Linked DNA regions of Homo sapiens: region 2 is linked to region 1. The links are contacts of gene promoters, found by promoter capture Hi-C in blood cells and fetal thymus (Javierre and others, 2016). All regions are on one chromosome and are shown on one strand. Each heading gives the region's core, a stretch centred on a gene start or on the middle of the fragment in contact. The rest is flanking DNA. Distances are from core to core; before and after follow the strand shown.

The links. The method cuts DNA at HindIII sites, captures the fragments that hold promoters and counts their contacts. A CHiCAGO score of 5 or more calls a contact.
Region 2: a fragment that was not itself captured here is called in contact with the fragment with the promoter of LINC01116 in region 1 in 4 of 17 cell types (fetal thymus, naive B cells, total CD8 T cells and 1 more); the score reaches 13.1 in fetal thymus.

Annotation. Positions count from the first base shown.
Region 1 is chr2:176,632,519-176,639,046 of GRCh38, reverse strand. LINC01116 (long intergenic non-protein coding RNA 1116) reads left to right here and starts at 1,438. Exons shown (of 5, transcript NR_188023.1): 1 at 1,438-1,585; 2 at 5,922-6,014. LINC01117 (long intergenic non-protein coding RNA 1117) reads right to left here and starts at 1,293. Exons shown (of 4, transcript NR_110599.1): 1 at 1,039-1,293. RefSeq lists an enhancer at 104-618 and a silencer at 779-828. The HindIII fragment of the contact is 4,643 bases long and covers 1-2,332 here.
Region 2 is chr2:176,072,009-176,078,081 of GRCh38, reverse strand. It overlaps EVX2 (even-skipped homeobox 2), which reads left to right. Exons shown (of 3, transcript NM_001080458.2): 3 at 1-610. Among named protein-coding and RNA genes, the nearest start is that of EVX2, 8.9 kb to the left of the region's middle. RefSeq lists enhancers at 1,400-2,740, 4,912-5,412. The HindIII fragment of the contact is 1,123 bases long and covers 2,570-3,692 here.

The sequences.
Region 1 (6,528 bases), core at 189-2,688:
AAGAAAAGCACATTTTGCAATAGAATAAATTCTTTTTTTTTTTTTTTTTTTTTTTTTTTATTGAGACCGCGGAAAGTCACATGACCCTGCATGTAGCCTTTTAGGAAAGCAACCGAAATGGTAAAGCCAGGAGCCGGGGCTGCCTGCTTCCTCCTGCAGCCTTTCAGCCCGTCCTGTCGCGCGTCCACATTCTTCTGGGCGCATCTGTGGAGCTATTAAGTGGGATAATCCCTCTGGCCTTTGATACATTTCTGGACATGATTATTTCATTACTCGCAGTATATCAGTAGGATCATAATAAAAAGGACTTCTGACAACCTGCCAAGAGTTTTGTGGCCTTGTAAACACAAAAGTGCTCTAATAAAATTTTATTAAGTGTTAAAAAGTCATAAAAAGTGAAATAACATAAACTACAAAATTTACTGTCCTCAGCAAATCCTGAAAATATCTTCCACAGTAAAATTAAATTAGCATGTAATAGACAGAGAAGCAGTGTGGAGTGGATTTAAAAGAGGATCCAGGGAAAATGACACTGTAACCCAATCAGGGTCACGGGGATTTAATTCGGATTTTCCCCCTTAAATGTGGATAAATGTGCTGATTACAGACGAGAGCTCCGGGGTTACTGGAGTCTCACACATTGTCAATACTTCGGAAGAAATAATATATTGCAGATTGTAACGAGCACGGGGAGCCAGCGAAAGGCAGGGCGTCCACTAGGGCGCGCTGAGAGACCGGGAATCCCCGCAAGGGCGCCCGCGCCGCCCGCCACCCGCCGCCGCGCGCACGCCGCGCCCTCGCCCACCTCCAAATAATATTTACAGTTAGGGTTTTTTTTTTTTTTTTTTTTTTTTTTTTTGCTCTCGCCCGTGACATTTTCTCCAAATCGGAAGAAAATCAAGTGTATGTCGAGCTTTGCCGCAGGCAGCCCTTGGTCTCCGCTTTCAGATTCGGGGTCCGGGAGCGGAGCGCCCTGCCCGCGGCGGTGCTAAACTCTGGGGCCAGGGTGTGGCCCTCAGCGAGCGCCCTGGGACTGGCCGCCCCGCCGAAGGATGCCGAGGATCGGGCAAGGCCGGCGTCCGGTCTGCGCGGGGCGCGGGTGCTCTCCGAAGGCCGCGAGCCACGGGCCTCGCTGCGGGTTCAAGTGCGTCCGGGTTTGGACGTCGCGGCTCCAGGAGTGTGCTCTCTCTCCTGCCCATCCCCTCCCCGGAGTTCAGCGCATCCGGGGCCCCGGGGACCCCTCTTCCCGGCCCTCCTGGCCGCGCTGGCCCGCCCGCATGGGGCCGAGGTTCCTGGCCGACGCGCGAGGGCGCGGGCGGGTACCGGGTTCCCGTTTTTCCCAGGCCCCGATCCCCGCCCACGCACGAGGCCCCCGGCCCACGCACGAGGCGCCCACGCCCATCGTGGAGGCTCCGCCTGGAAAAGAAGTCCGACTTCCTCTCCAAGCTGCTCCGAGGGGAATGGGGAATCGGCAGGAAATGACCCGAACTGCCAGCCTGCGCCTTTGCAGCCGGCCCTCGCTTTGCTGAAGACGAGCAGCTCCCACCAAAGTCTTGCCTCCCCTTACCCCGAAAGCCCCGCTCAGGTTTGTAAAGAGGGGTGCGAGATCTGAAAAGTATTTGTCTTCTAGGGAGAGAGATGTTGGTAAGGGGCCCAGAGAAAGACGGGTCCTTTTTAGCTCATCAACGCGCCACGTCTTGCTTTGCAGCTCCAAAATGATGCCAGCGCTGCTGTCCGAAGGGTCAATATTAATGCGTTAAGTGAAATGGGAAATAAATGGACAGTGGCACATTTCGTGGCATCATTTTTACAAGGGGATGTCGAAAGTTTTAAGCTGCATTTAAGAATTAGCCACATCTTGCCTGAAAGTTAATATTTTTTGATAAACTCGTTAATAAAGCCTAGAAGAGGTAAGTTAAAGTTAGTTACCACGTAGATCCTCCAGTCTCTTGTAGAGACTTGCGCAGGTTACTAGGATGAGGACGAGTTGTATTTTTAATTTTCTAGACTAAGTGCAAAGGCATTGAGTTTTGAGGTGGCAGGGTTAATGTTCAAGGGCAAATGGAACCGCCAAGGATCTCTTGAAAAGAATTCACTTACTATTAATACTTAAGCCTGAAATAATTATAATTAATTTACAGTGGGAATTATATGCCCATGTTTTAGACTTTTTTGTTATATTAGCTATATGAAAAGGGATGTTCTTTAGTGATTAAAAGAAAAAACCACCTGTTTATTGTCATTTGCAATTTGAAATAGCCGACAGCAGTAAGGCTAGCTACAAAAGCTAACAAGTCAACTTCAGTGTGGTTTGACATTTACTGTCAAAGCTTTGAGCTCTAAGAAAAACAGAATTTAAAATAATGTATATAAATAATAAAATTTCATTGTGACTCAATGTCCCTGCCCCTGGAGAAGGGACAGATGACACTCAGTGACTGGCTTGGAACCATTCCCCCTGCAGATGCATTTGCGGATACAGTGGGCCAGGGCTGCCTCTGAGTATGTACAGCAAGTGCTTATGGACTTACAGAAACAAATGTTTTACTATTTAGGATTTTCTCAATAGTTTACACTAAAAGTTTTGCATGTAGAAATGTGGGATAAATATTTCTTTGAAAGGAAAAGTTTCGAAAGGAAACTTTATACTTGTATTTTTTTGTGTGTTCACATTTCTAAGTTCATCTGTCTTTCAAAAAACAGATTTTCATAAATATTAAAATATTGCAAGTATTATTTTTAATTCTTTTGAGTGCCATGTTTGCTGTAAGTAGTTTTTTCTTTTAAGTAAGATTAATATAATCCTGTCTAAGGAGTTTAATAGAGAGAACAGGATTTCCAAGCCTATAAATGCAGTCTATATAAAATAGTGGGATCAAAGTTTTTTGTTAAGAAACTTGAGAATTTATACATTTTAAATGAAGATAGAAGCACGTTTTAAAAGTAGTTTTTCCACACCATTTCCCTCCCCCCAAAAGAATTCAGAAACTATATTCCATAGTCTAAAAATGGCATAATCAGATGTAAAAATTATTACCATAATATATAGTTTTCTCAAGATGGTGGATACTTTTTAATATATTATGAAGAGTTATATTCTCAGCCCACTGTGTGTTTGAGGGAATGGAAAAGACAAGATGTTTCTAAACATATTTTACTACTGAAATCCATAAGACTATTAAGCTGTGCAGGTAATTGTGTTCTAAGTGGTAGAAGTATTTTTCCAACTGCTTTTTAAACTTTGAAAAATTTATATGTATTTTAATTAGCACTTTTCTTTTAAAGGTTCCAAATATTTAGCTATATCAGCTATGTGATAAAAATTATTGGAATTTGTTCCCTACTACTTTCTGCATAAACAATTGAGAAATATTTTATACTAATCTTTTTATATACAGGGGATAAATTTGAACATGTGTCTTGTTGGTGTAATAAACAATCCAAATTCATTTCTTTCTTGAAAACTTGGCATCGATCTTCATCTTATTTTTTATGCACACAATTTGGACATGCCAGTTTGTAGGCAAGTTTTAAGACAGTGCAAGTTTTATGTGGAAGAATGTATATTAAGGAATGAATAGCTAATAGCCAAAATTAAATCAGGAGGTGTGGCATTCACTCCTTTGGATGATTATTTTAAAGATAGTTTTGCACTCAGGAAGGATTTTCTTATGCTCTGTATTTATGAATATCTAAATTATCCTGCCTTGCAACTTCAAAACTCAATAACCAAATACCAAATTTATGTATTTTCAGTGTGACTAAGGCTAGGAATATGAGAAGCAGATTGGTTTTATAAAAGAAAGCAAGCATTTACAATTGTATTTTAAAATATAATCCTAATTTCAGTTTCTGACAGAAATCTTGTGGTCAGCTCATCAGTTTTTCAGATCAGTTTCTAAATAGCATATAAAAACTACCTTTTCCACATCAGAAGTTCATATTTAGGTTTCCTTAACTGCAAAATCACTTTAAAAGAGAGTGTTTTATGTGAAGGGCCATTTCATGTGTTGGTTCCATCGATTACATATGAATGTATAAAAATCTTGTTTAAAGACCAGTAAAAGTGAGGAAATTCCAAGTCAGGCTGGCTAATTCCATTCATAATTCATCCCGAGTACCTGACTGAGGAAACTTGCAAACAGTTTATAGCTATACATACAAAATAAGTTGACGTGCTTTGTAAGCTGGAAGCAGAGTTAAGTTTGACCTCCCTGCTTGGAAGGTCTTAAATTAATAAAATTATGGAATATGGTTAAGCTTTTCAGTTTCCCAAGAATTTTCCAATATCGATGCTTTTTGGATTTTTGCATTTTGAAAATGTAAGCATGGAAGGACAACTTCTTTTGTGCTGAGATGAAGTTAGCTTTTACCCATCCATTTCCTTCCCACTTAACACATTTGTTCAGTAATTCTTCGAGTGCTGGGGGACAGAGGCCCTGCCTTGAGAAAAGCATATGCCATTTCTCTGCCCCCTTCAACCATCCCCACCCCCAGCCCTCCCTTTATTTCAAGCCAGTTGGACAAGTATTTAGCATTGACACATGTTTCAAACTGCTGCATCCACAGCCCTAGGTAGTTTTGGGGATTGGCAGGAAATCCATCTAGACTTTGCCTTCTGAGCTGGGTAAAACTACTAGGAAGTCCTATGCCTTGATATTGTGGCACTTCTAGGCTGTCTTTCCAATTTTAAGCAATCCATCAGTTGTTTTCTAAGACTGCACTGTAGACTGATGCCTTCTCTTAGTTTTGATGTTCAGAAGATTTTTTAAACATGTTCATAGATTTCTTAAACATTCTGAGTAATTGTAATTTTAAACTAGACTAATTTTAGGGTTGAAAACTGTCCCAGAGAGAGTCCTTACATAATAACTTCAATCTGATGTGAACTCGAATGACTTTTTAAAAATAAGATGTTGAAAATGTGGGTTTCTGGTGGAAAAGGCTGCCATTCACTTAGAGTGGGATCCTTAGGACCAGTTAATATCCACCAGACATGCTTCAATAAACTGGAACAAGCCTGATGTGGAATTACTGACTCCCCATTTTCCTGAATGTAGGTCATTTTGTGTCCTTACAATTTAACGTTTGAAGGGATTTCCTGTCTTTGAAGTGCAACAGTTTGTCACCTGCTTGGCTAGCTGCCTTAACAGTTGGGGCTCCTTTCCTACATTGAAAGACTTAGTGACTCCATGTTCCCGGGCTAGAGTTTCCCAGCTCACTGAATGCATGATACCTGCACCTCTGGGACTCTCCTCTACAAGTTAGTGCCTGCAGATCCCCTGTTCCAAGCTTCATTTCTCTAGGTCAAAGAGCCTAAAAGAAAAGCCCGGGCCGGGCGCGGTGGCTCACGCCTGTAATCCCAGCACTTTGGGAGGCCGAGGCGGGCGGATCACGAGGTCAGGAGATCGAGACCATCCCGGCTAAAACGGTGAAACCCCGTCTCTACTAAAAATACAAAAAATTAGCCGGGCGTAGTGGCGGGCGCCTGTAGTCCCAGCTCCTTGGGAGGCTGAGGCAGGAGAATGGCGTGAACCCGGGAGGCGGAGCTTGCAGTGAGCCGAGATCCCGCCACTGCACTCCAGCCTGGGCGACAGAGCGAGACTCCGTCTCAAAAAAAAAAAAAAAAAAAGAAAAGAAAAGCCCGGAGCCATACACTCACCTGGTTGAAGCCATAAAGAGGTAAGCTTTCATAACGTAGGCTATATATCAAAATTCATAGCTTTTTAGAACCGGAGTAACTAGTGCTCAGGCATTAGAGTCTCAGGCTAGAGCAAAACACAGCAACTGGTGCCAAATGTACGCTAGTGGCTGAAACCCATTTAAGTAATAAACAAACAAATGTCCTTTTAAGAATGTGCTATTATTTTTATTTAAGAATGCATATGACTTTATCGCCCCTTATGATGTGAATCTTACAGTTCAATATTTCAAGTGAAAATCTGCCTGTTCGAAAAGAAAATATTCACAAATGAGCAGTGTATTAGAAGACAACTGAATTGCTTCTAAGAATGGTGGGTATGCTAATTTTTACCAAATGATACAACATGTGCATGCCAAAGCTCTTTGTAAACTATAACACACCTCCAAATGAAAGCAATTTGCATATATTTTAATAAACTTGTCTGCCTTTACCACATCCACCAACTAATCCTTATGCTCCCACTGCAAAGACTCTCCTCTTTTTGGAGAGGAACACCAATTGTTTGAAAGCCTGGACTTTCAAACAATCTTAAGGCATCTTCATAGTATCCGTCCTTAAGAGTGCTTTCATCTTAATATTAGGTAAACATTTAGAAGATTATGAACTTTGGGGACTTTCTTTTCAGAGAACTGAACACGTGTATATAAAATTACAATATCCTGATAAGTGAGGGGAAGAAAATAAAAATAGGTGTCAATACAGTTATGGCTTAAGATCTTGATGAAATTGAGAAGAAAGTAGAAATCAAATGCATCAAAGGAAGAACGGTCAGACTGAATTCTGTTTGTAATTTTTTCAAAATGAACTGAAATGCAGTTTTTCTG
Region 2 (6,073 bases), core at 1,882-4,381, 560 kb after region 1:
ATTATTTCCATCAAATGGAAAATACATAAAGGGGAAACAGTATTTCGAAATTCCTGGGGTCTATTAAAATATTACCATAAAATATTAGAGAACTTTCCAATGAAATAGCAATGATCTAAAACTTAAGTTTTTGTTTTTGTTTTTAAAAACATGAGACTACTTATGTAAAATATTGATTATACCAGCTCTTATTCACTGAGTTTACATTTTTAAAAATATTAATATATAATTTAAGGCTAAATAAAATAAACCAAAATATGGTACCCTTTATCAGCTTTACCTATTTAGATTGTTAAAGTCCTTTGTTATGATCAGCTAACAGATGTATATAAGGTACTTTAGGCAGTAATGTTTACATTTCCCCCAAAAAATATATATGATTGATGAGAACGCTGGTTGGTAAAATTAACATAAATTCATCATTTGTTGGGTCCATTGGATCTGGTTATTATATTGAAATAAAATTGTAAATAAAGTCTTCGTGCTTTAAATATTGCTGGATGTATGAACTCACTGTAAGATATTTTACAAATGTGCAATAATTATAAAGCCTTGTATATTACGTTATTTATTGTGTTTGGTCATGTAAAATAAATGTTATTTAAATCAAGGCAGTTTTATTTGTTTAAGAGATTGCAAAATGGTTTGTGCTAGTGTTCGTTTTTAACTGTGGCATCCAGGGTTATGAGAATCTCTTAAAACAACATGTTTAAATCCATATAATACACATATCAGATGGATTAATTCATTCTAATCATTATTTTTATGGCAAATACATTACTCATGTTTATAGGAGACATGCACTCTTCCAAACATTGGTTTAACGTTAATTGGCTGGCTAAACAGATAAGAGTGTTTAGGAGTAGTGTGTGTGTCGATACACATGGTAGAGGACGTGCCGTCATATATATAGGGAGTGTGTACACAGGGTTAGGAGCTGTTTATGTTTGCAGTACTACAAAGGTAAACAAAATTAATTCCTCTATCTAATTAACTTGCCCACTTTTATTCTCCCACTTATGAAGTAAATATTAATATTTAATTCAAGGAAAAAGTTCACTCTTAATAGGAGCTCAGCCCTCTTCAAGCTCAGCCCTCCCTTACTAGTTCCATCTCCTTTGGTCTCTTTTAGGGGTGTACAGCACATTCTTCAAACTTAAGTAGTGTTTCTGTTTGCTGAGGATAAAGGATGCTGTGAACATTTTACCAAATTGGCTATGAGTATTTCAAGCAACTGGATATTTAAAAATATGATTTCCCCTCTTCCTTCTTTCTTTTGCTTTGGTACTTCAGCCCTGTTTTTCTTTCCCAATCCTATCTTCTTTCCCGAGTTCAGTCCACCTCTTCGTGTATTTACAGATCTGTCTTAAAATCGATATTTCGATGGCAAAATGCAAGAGTCAATGGTGTGTGCAAAGCAGTCTATTCGATTTAAAAACCAAGATGTCCCTTCCTCGAAATTTTCTTTTTCCAACTGCTCACCCTGGCATTAATTACAACGATGAGGACACTACTGGGAATACAGAGGCTGCGATCACAAGCCATTTTGGCCTGTAATTTACCATTATTATTGCATTAGCTCTAAATGATACAAGCTGATACCGTCTTTAATTGCAGGTTGGTTAAATATATACTGAAGTAATCCCAAGGGTTCCCTCCCCCTCGATAAATTCTTTTCTCTCTTTCCCCTTCTCTCTTTTCTTGAACTCCCCCATTAAAGAAATACGATTATAGCAGCACATTTGGACTGGTGATGTATCACCCTGGTTTTCGGTGCTCTTTGCTAACTCGGGGGTTGTAACCCTTAAAAACAAAAGCATTGAGATAGATGGGCCAGCAAACGGAAAAAGACAGTGGCCAAAAAACCCTGTCCAAAATAACAGCATTTTTTTTGTCTCGAGTGTGCAAAGAATGAAAAAATAATTCATCATAAAATGCAGAAGACTGTCTGTCATCAAGCCCGAATTGTTTTTGACAAGAAAATAAATCTGTAGGTTGTTTAATATATTTTATATTTTCTTTATTTCGTCGCTAATGGAAAAACCAAATTAAATGTCCACTAGCGAGATAGAAATGCAAAGATCGATGATCCACCCCCCTACTGTCCAATCACCCCTATTTAATTGACTGTATTTTCTGGGTAATTGAACTGCTTGTTGTAAATTGAAGATTTTATAGAAACGACATGAAAACTACATTTACTGACATTCATCGCATCTTTGACATTGATTATCTGATCAACGCATGTCACGGTAACCTCCAATTCTTCATTACACACTGTTTATGAGCTGTTACAGAACAACTTGCTTGTTCCAGGGTGATTGATTGCCTTATTAACGCGTGTTCTTGTAAGTGTGACCGAACTGATTACGATGCATATGTTTAGAATAATGTTTCATTTAGCTGACTGCGAGTAATGCAGGGTGACAGCTGCTGCAGGGAGGACAAAAAAACCTGAACTACAGGGCGCGTTTGGGACCAAAAAGCCCAAGTTATTTAAGGTGGAACGGACCACCCCGAGAGGAAATTCCAGAGCTTGTTGCTGCTCCTTAGTCGCTCGGAGGAAGCTTACCCTGGCATCCCCGCCCTCCAAACTCAGAAATATGAAACATTTGATGAAACAATCGCTACCCTCTGCAATTAAATAAGTTATGAAGACTAAATATATGGTAAGGGTTTTCCTCTTGTTACTTCTCTTCCATAAATTGTATTTCTTTTTCTTCCCATAATGCTCCGGTGTCCTGGATTTTTAGGTGCAAAAAGAACAAGCAAAGAAATTTACCTTTGTAAAAATCTACTTACTTACACACAGCTCCAAACTCAAAATTCTTCAGTCTGCTATGGATTCCAGGAAAGGTGTCCTTTCAATCCTACCCATCCTGAATCCGCTAAAGGAAGACTTATAACTCTCCCTCCCGCTAAAACTTGAGTCCCTTTCCTGGGCTTTCTGAGGAAGGAAAGTGACCTTTTCCTTTGCCAAGGCCCTGAGCGTTTTTCCTAGGCCGATCAGGTCAGAAGCTGGAGTGCATTTTGGTTTTAGGCTGAACCTTTATTGGCAGCTCTCCCAAACCCCAGTCATCAAAGGCCTACACCTGGAGACCCTGGAGAGCAGCGTAGGGCTCACGCTATAATTTGTCTGTTAATGTTATGAGCCATGATTTGATCAGAAGTGGGGATCTACTTTCAAGTAGCATTCTGAGTTTCCTCTCATAAGGAACCAAAGAAGGGGACATAGAGCCCTGCAGTGGTCATGAGAAGTCAGTCTCTTTTCCTTTCCTCTTTTTCCACCTAGGACTGGCTGCACAATTTTTGGTCCCAGTGCAAAATGAACATGTGGGCCCCTTGTTCAAAAGTTATTAGGAATTTCAAGAGGGCAACAACAGAACATCAAATCAAGCTGGGGGGTGGCTTTTAAGCCCATCACCCTGTGTGACTACAAAGATCCCCACCCACGAAGCCTGCCCTGTCTCACCCCCTCTCAGATGGAGAGACTCCCCTTGAGTTTAAATAACTTATCCCAATAAAAGACTGGCTTGGGAGTAGAGAGGGAGAAATGTAGGGGGTTATGGCTCCTGGGGGCACCTCCCCTTTCTTCAGTGACCTTTTGGCCTGATCCCTTCTCTTTCTTTGGAGCCACTCTCACCTCAGCTTCTCTGACCTAAGGTCTGGGTCCAAAGAATCTCATGGAAGCTTCCTGAACCACTTCTGAGGTGGGAAGGGTCACCCTCTCTTCCAGCTTCCTTTACACCAATTTGCAAAGTATCCACAACTAAGCTCATCATCCCTGACTTAGGAAAACCAGAATCAAGGTGTCTCTGCCTGTGACGGAAACCCAGGGGAGGAGGGGTGGTGGCGGGGGTGGGTTGGGAGGATAGTCCAGTCTGCAAACGAGAAAAGGGGCAGGCTGGTGTTTCTGAGGTTTGAACTCAGAGCAGGCACTTTGGAGTAAAACCAGTGACCTCCAGACCCTGTGGTATTCCCAGCCAAGTTGGGGAGGGCTGGCAGTGGGGGTCTTGGTTTTCCTGGAGCGATGGGAAAGCATGCTGTGAAAATGCTTTTTATAGATTCTCCCACCTCCACCCCAATCTTATTTTAATAAATACATCCTCAGGCATTATTTACAAGCTCACATAATTTACCTATGCTATTTGGCAAAGCAACTTCGCAAAAGAAAGTGAATGAATAAATACTTCATAACTGCTGGTAGAGCAGACTGGGTCCTGTAATGAAGAAAAGATTTATGTCACCTTATTTCAGCCCAAATAGCAGCAGCCTCGGCTTGTCTCAGCCCAGTGCTTCTATTTAAATGTTACTTTCATATATTATGTGGCATTAATTTAACTATAGCTCATTAAGGCAGAATGAAATGGTTAAATTAACTTATCAACCCATAATGATGATGAATGAGGTATTAATTCAGATACAAGCTGGGCAATTTGCAAGTTTACGCATTGTGATGGTTCTCAAATAACATTTTGAATAGCGGGTCAGCGCCTCAATCAATTACATAAGCATGTAAAGTTGGTCTCTCAGAAAAAAAATCCTTTTTCATGCATATGCATTAAAACATGTTCGCAATTATCCTCGGAAATTGCCTTCATTGGATTAAGCAGCAGCCTTGGACGCGGGTTCTGATCTTCCCTGGGCTTTTATTAAAGCTCTGAGCAGCTTTGGCAATAACAGGGCGGATGGGCTGTTTGTTTAAAGAGTGTTTACCAAAGAAAAGGGCCGACGGGGTGTGCTGGTTGATAAACAGGGATCTACCTCCTTGGGAGAAGTTGTTAGGAATCGTCTGACTGCCCCGAGGCTGAGGAGGGAACCCTGTCAGCCCAGACATCGGCTCCGGGGCTTCGGCTTTCCGGGCTAGTAATTAACTGCCACCTCAAAACCAGCCTTGGGTTCAGGCTGTGCTCGCCAGGGAGATACCGTGCCCGGCCCAGCGTTCGCCCACTAGGGGACTCGGGCGGGGGGACGGGTAGGCACACAGGCAGCCTCCTGCGATCCTTGGTTCATCCAAGCCAGACCAGCAAATGACTTACTTAGTCCTGGGATGGGGGCTCTGGAGGGGGATTTAATGAGCCCTTTGGCAGGAGCTGATTCAGGGCGGCGGTGACCCGTTGTTTCCACCTTCATGCCAAGACGGTTGGCGAATCTCTGCGGATATCCTGCTCGGTTTGACAACTTTGTGTGGGAGAAGAGTTAGCCCAGGTTCAACTCTGGAGTGGAAGCTACAGGAGGGCAGGGCTTGGCCTCAGATATCTCATCTGCAACCCCACCCCAATCCCGACCCCGACCCCGACCCCCAAGCAGGCCTGGTTTGCCCTCCCTGTTCATGAGGCCTAACTTAAGTTCTCTCTGGAGAAAAGTAAAAATAAAAAAGTCAGAGGCCACGGCAGAAGGCTTTGCGGAAGGGCAGGAGGGATTAAAATGAGTTTTTCTGGGACCTCCTTCTATTCCTCTGCCCCATTTTAAAAAATCTTGGTGAAAATAGGGCAGTTAAATAAAACTTTGGCACTTTCCATATGCCACGTACTGCCAAGAGCATACATTAACTCATTTAATTTTCACCACACTCATACGAAATAGTTTCCATCATTATCCCCATTTTACAGAGGGGTAAACTGGGCTGTGGGATGAACACTTTTCCCAGAGTTGAATATTGCACTGCCCAGATCATGAGTTTCACGCTCTCAGCTACTCCGCTAAGCTGCCCCAGAAGGCTTCCCTTCAAAGAGAGGTGTGTGGGTGACACTGCAGTTCCATAATGGGGCACCCACGGAGGTAGATCTGCATTTGTGTAGGTAGGAAGGACCCTAGTCCGGGTTCCTGAGCAATTCTGCTCCTCTTGGGCAGGCAGAAGGCTATTCGGGTGACTGCAGTCCGGGCGGAAGAGGCGGTCAGGGGTGAGGTGGCCTATCCCCCAACCCCGACCTCATTTTAGGGTCTCTCCCAGGCAGGTCTTTCCCCTCTTTGGATGGGTCAGCTCTGTGGAGTGCTGGCCGAGTGGCCACTTCGAACTCGTGCACTTCTGCTTTCTCGGGTTCGGCCCTGGCTTTCATGCCCGGGAGCTCCG